Regions from separate parts of the Homo sapiens genome. Here region 2 is linked to region 1. The links are contacts of gene promoters, found by promoter capture Hi-C in human tissues and cell types (Jung and others, 2019). All regions are on one chromosome and are shown on one strand. The core of a region is centred on a gene start or on the middle of the fragment in contact, and the rest is flanking DNA. Distances in the headings are between cores, read along the strand shown.

Region 1 (2,962 bases), core at 290-2,789:
TTCATTCCTACTAGGCAGGGGAAAAGTTTGCATGCCTGCAGTCAGAAGTCAGTTAGACAGACATTCAAAGCCTCAAAGAGAATGCTGGTTATGTAACTCAGAACAAACTCTCCACTCCTAGGCAAGTCTCTGGGAATTTAGAGTTGACATGACAACCTCAGGAGGAAAAACACCTTGTTTAATGCTGTACTACGTGACCTACACCGGTCACTGACCAGAGCAAGGAGAAGCCACCCAGAATCACTGGTTAATGATCAAAATATTAAGCTATGGTCTATTTTAAGCACCTGGAGGAAAACTCAACACAGGAATTGGTTTCTTTCCCAGCTCAGGCCAACTGATAGAACATGCTGGTGGGCCACACGCCAAAAGTAGGCAGAGCCTTCATTCATGGATTTATTTAAGAGCCACCAAACTTTCAGGCTACTCAATATGATTATATAGGAAATCATTTGTCTTTTACATCTATATTCTGAAATAATAATATTTATTAAACACTTTCTACATACCAGGCACTTTGCTAAGCACTTTAATAAATTTCATTTAATCTTCACAGCAATACTAGTCTACCCCCATTTTACAGATTAGGAAACTGGCTCTGAGAAAAATATACAACTGGTTAATGATGAAGCAGGTAAATGCACCAAGGATTACTTGACTCTAGAGACTATGATCTTGACCACTACACTTTATTGCATCTTTTGATTAAAATATGCTTATAATGGGATATGACACCAATTTGCCATTCTGGACAGAAATTATTTCCTCCAAGTTTCTAGGAAATGGGAAGCTCAAGTTTGTTTTGTCAGGTACCAGTAACACAAAAAAACCTAAATTACCTGTTCATATTTTTTTCTATTATCCAAAGTCCCAAACAATAGAAACCCAATGAGAATTGAATCTTAACTTTTTGAATCTTGTTTTAGTTATTAAAAAATGACATAAACTTAATGATTCTTCCCTGAGACAGTGGAAATATCTAGGAGACTTCTAAGTTTCTTGTATTAGAATTCAAAGATCACGATTCTTCTGCTAGATAACCACTACTACGGTCCTTTTGTTTCCACCACAGAATGGAACGCAGTGCATCTTGGAGCAGCTAATAAAACTCTGTAGTGTAACTAGATGAACAATTACAAGTAAGAATACACTCTTAGAGATTTTTTTAAAGTTCGCAGATAATTTTCAAAACAAACATTGCTCATCCCTCTTTCACTGTCTTACCAGAATGTTAGGTATTTTCCTCATTTTTGCTAAGTTCTTTTATTTGAAATATATCAGCATGTTCCTTCAAGACAACCTTTTACTAAGTATTTGTTTGGTGCATATGCACAATACATAGTATATGCACTAAATCAATTTAAAAGATCAGTCACTAATTTTTTCCTAACGGGAAAATAAAGTGTCAACTAAAAACCACCCATATTTGATTTATTCATGCCCACTTTTAAGTTCTAGGTATAAACAACTTAGAAAGAAATCCTTACCTTACTTAGAAATTCATACCGTCTAGTCAAATGCTAAGTAGTCCATAAGAATAAACATTGAATTCAGCTATGAGTTTCTCAGAGAGTAAAGTCCAAGGTACGTTTGATTTGCTACCTATGACAGACCAAGGAAATCACATCATCACCAAGGACTCCCTCCTTCAAACTAAGCCCCACCCAGATCTGAGTCAGTACAGATCTGAAAAGTCCAGGAATTAGAAGATGCAGTTTCAGACAACATATTGAAACAGCTAAGCATTGAGCTGTGGGAGCAGTGGACTCTGGTTTCCATGCTATGGTGTCAGCTTCACCATCAACATGATACAGGCAACCTCCTGAGGTTGGACTGCCTGTGACCTGTCTAGCTTGCTGCAGAGTTGTAAAGAAAATTGTGTAGCTGGTTGCAGTGGGTGCCAATAGTTCTGTGAGAAAGAACCATAACCCTACACAAAGTTCATCTGCACCTACAATTCCCATTACAGTTCTGGTCGCTAGAACACCCAAGCTTAAACTCAACTTCAGAGAAATAAAGACCTCTCTGAATTCCACATGGAAAGTTGGGCAGTGCCCAGCCTCTATGCTGTCATATCATTTAATCTCTCTCTCCCTCAGTGTCACATGCATGGCATGCATGCACATACAACAGATGCTAAGAGTCATGCTTTACTCACTATTGTATCCCAAACAACTACCACTTACTTACTAGCACATAGTAGCTGGTCAATATCTGTTTGCTGAGTGCATGGGAGCAAAAGTTACAAAGTGAACAAAAATTACCTTAGGAGGACAATAAACAGGACCCTTCTGTCTGGAACAAAGGATGCCATCCAAGCCTTGGCACAGCACACAAATCCCCTGATCATATAATCATAGGGCCCTGTCTAGCTTTATAGCCTTTCGGCATTACTCACCACATCAACGTTAACCTCCTGCCACACATGCACACTCAGGGGAGAGGGCAAAGTACATTTGGGGAACTCCCCCTCCTCTTCCCCATCTCTTCCTTGACTTCCTTCTTCTCTAGTCAGAGTCATCCATAGTGAGCCTTCTGCTGCCCACTGGAAACTGGGTTGAAAGCGCCAGGGCTCTTCCTAGAATCCCCAAAGTCACCCACGCCAACGTTTTCTTTTTTGTTTGTTTTTGTTTTTCGTTTTTTTTTTTTTTTTTTTTTTTGAGACAGAGTCTCTTTCTGTCGCCCAGGCTGGAGTGCAGTGGCACGATCTCGGCTAACTGCAAGCTCTGTCTCCCAGGTTCACGCCATTCTCCTGCCTCAGCCTCCCGAGTAGCTGGGACTTTCAACCCAGTTTCCAGTGGGCAGCAGAAGGCTCACTATGGATGACTCTGACTAGAGAAGAAGGAAGTCAAGGAAGAGATGGGGAAGAGGAGGGGGAGTTCCCCAAATGTACCTTGCCCTCTCCCCTGAGTGTGCATGTGTGGCAGGAGGTTAAAGTTGATGTGGTCAGTAATGTCCAAAG
Region 2 (2,962 bases), core at 154-2,653, 160 kb after region 1:
ATTGGTCCCCTCTCACAACCAATCAGGTTGGTTGTGGGCCAAGTCTTCATTTGCGTGGGAGTATTACTTTGTAACTTCACTTCAGCCTCTAATTGGTCACTTTCCACAACTAATCAGACGTTTGCATTCTGATTGGTCCCTTCCAACCAATCAGACTGATCACAGGCCACTACTTCATATACATAGGGTGTACACCAAGTAACCAATGGAAACTTCTAAAGGGTATTTAAACCCCAGAAAGTTCTGTAACTGGGCCCTTGAGCTGCTTGCTCGGCCTGCTCCCACCCTGTGGAGTGTGTTTTCATTTTCAATACATCTCTGCTTTTGTTGCTTCTTTCTTTTCTTGCTTTGTTTGTGAGTTTTGTCCAATTCTTTGTTCAAAGCGCCAAGAACCTGGACACCCTTCACTGGTAACACTTGGGTCTGAGAGACCTAGAGAAAAAGAGAAATGACTCATGAACACTTAACTTTGTCAGGTAAAGAAACCTGGCAGAGTGGGTATCAAGTTTTCCCCAGTCTCACCAATCAGAAAAACCATCTTTCTCCCAAGAAAAGAGATGAGTGAGCAGGGAAGGGAGGGGCTGTAGTACTTTCCCCAAGAAGGCCATAATTCTAGATACACATGGAGAAACAATTATATTCCATTTATCCACTAAAAATAATACACAAGTTTTATTTTTCCCCCTTTCATATCAAGCACTGGTTAGAGATGACCCAGAAATCCAAAGATGGAAAGAACTTTACTGAGGTAAAGTTTATTTATGTTCATCATTTGGATGATATTAACCCTCTTTTTCAATCGGAAGCAAAGGATTTTTAGATGGGTTAATTCAGTCTCTCTGAGGAGCTGATACAGTTTGCTGTAAATGTGTTTTGCTTCACAGACAATAGTGCTGTGATGGAATGGTTGGTCCATGAGTCTGTGAATAAATGAATAAATCACACACCTGTTAAATTGTGTGCTGCACATAATCAAGGGGTTGTGATGTTGTTTTTTTTTAAAGCAAAAATGTTGCTTCTCTCCATTTGCTGCTCCTAAACAATTTCTAAATGTAGTGTCTTGTATTTTCCCCATTTAGTGAAGTTCAAAGTACTTCATGGTGCTCACACATGTGAATTCTAAATCTATGTATTGTCCCCATCAATTCTCAGAGTTGCAAATATAAGCACTGTGATTTGGCATAGGAGCAAATTAAAATATACCAACATTCTAATCCTTCCCCAGGTCATATTGTAAGTCAGGGTTGGAGAAGTAGGAGTGATAGAGTCTGAAAGGATACCATGAAGCATGCCACTCACCTGGGCAGGCACCCCGTGGGAGTGTATAAGGATGTAGGATTCTGGAGGAACCCACAAAAGTCCTGGAGCCTTAGGCTCCAATTCAAGAACACCTACCATGAATGACATCTCCATGCCAGGAACGTGACCACTGTGTCCACTGGCCAGGCCAACAGAAGGAGGAAACCATGAAGCTGCTGGGTTTTAAAACTTATGCATGGATAGCTTCCAAGCTCTCAGTTGTATCATGTAGTTTTAAAAAAAATGTCCTCTTCCTGAGTGGGGAACTGCAATCCATTATGAATGAAGACACTGCATTGTTATCTAAGTAGACAATAATGACAATATTGATTTTTATTTACTTTGTACCAATTATCTCCCAAAATATTCAGAGAAAAGGGTACAGACTCTGATGCTTCAAATTCATGCTCCATATTCTAGTTGTTTGTCATTGGTCAAATGACTGAGCCTACCTGAATTTGTTTACTAAACCAAAAAAAGGGGAGGCATAAAATTTTTATAGAGTAGAGGTGTTGAGGGAATTAAATGAGTGTGGTGTGTGTGTGTGTATGTGTAAAACGTGTAGAAGTTATAGGCTTTTACTGGGTTTGGCCACTTTGTGTACTACTTAGTTTCTTGGTCTACCTGGTTCATATATATTTGTCTATGGCAGCATATAAAGACATTCTTTAACTTGATGTATGATAGAAAGAGAGAAAATGAGAAGGAAAAAAGGAAAACGAAAGGAAAGCAGAACTGAAAATGACTGAGTGTGGTATCACTAAGAACTACATCCAGTTGGTTATATAGCTGTCTTAGCCACAGTGCATTGCTAAACTCTGTTATATTACAATGCAGGTCTAATATAAATCTACAATTCCCCCTCACTAACAACTGAAGAAGACTCTCATGAGAAAGGTTAAACGAGTGATCTATAGTCTGGGGTAAAATTTCCTTTCCTTGTATTAATTCAGCTGAGCCTTCACTGCATGCTCTGAGAGGGTGCATTTTTCTCAGCCCACCCGTTTTCAGTGTTTCCTCATTCACTTGCTCCAAGTTCACTTTACTTTGAGAAGAGCCCTTATCACTGTGTTGCTAGTACATTGAGCCAAAACTCTAGCCACTATTTACTTGGAATGCCATTGAAATACTTTCTTATTTTTGTTTTCCCAAAGCCTTCTTTCTCTTTCTTATCTGAACTTTCTATGTCATCACTGTGGAGCTGAGGAGATTTTGTTTTTGTTTTTGTTTTTGTTTTCGTCCTCTGCTCCTTTTGATGGAAGGAGTAATTTCCATATTGGTTTCGATTTGAACAGTGGATTTTCTCACTGGGTAAAACAAGAATGCCATGACACTTTCTGTGTAATTTCTGTATATTAAAGGTATCTATGGCAGTAGCAGACCGAGGCTACCCTCCTTAACCATTTACATCCAATGCTGAGTGTGATTCTAAAGCACTTAAAGTGATACTGAAAACTATTACTTTTAAGTGGCATTTTCAGAGGTTTGTCAGTTATAAAATAACCAAGTAGGAAGCATCAGTGAAAGCCATCTGGCCTTCAAATACTGCTTGTCTCTCCCTCACTCTATTATCTTTCTAGAGTCCCTGAAACCCTTAGCTTTGTTCATTCTTCAACAGACAGTATTTATTAATGTCCTTCAAGTGTTCCATCAGGGAGCCGGG

What was found. The method cuts DNA at HindIII sites, captures the fragments that hold promoters and counts their contacts. A contact is called where the count stands out against the background at its distance.
Region 2: a contact is called between a fragment that was not itself captured here and the fragment with the promoter of HHLA2 in region 1, in 1 of the 25 tissues and cell types used here (lymphoblastoid cells).

Annotation. Positions count from the first base shown.
Region 1 is chr3:108,295,125-108,298,086 of GRCh38, reverse strand. HHLA2 (HHLA2 member of B7 family) reads right to left here and starts at 1,539. Exons shown (of 10, transcript NM_001282556.2): 1 at 1,488-1,539. The HindIII fragment of the contact is 3,171 bases long and covers 756-2,962 here.
Region 2 is chr3:108,133,784-108,136,745 of GRCh38, reverse strand. LINC01215 (long intergenic non-protein coding RNA 1215) reads right to left here. Exons shown (of 2, transcript NR_110030.1): 2 at 1-432. Among named protein-coding and RNA genes, the nearest start is that of LINC01215, 10 kb to the right of the region's middle. RefSeq lists an enhancer at 34-173 and a silencer at 2,664-2,823. The HindIII fragment of the contact is 7,983 bases long and covers 1-2,962 here.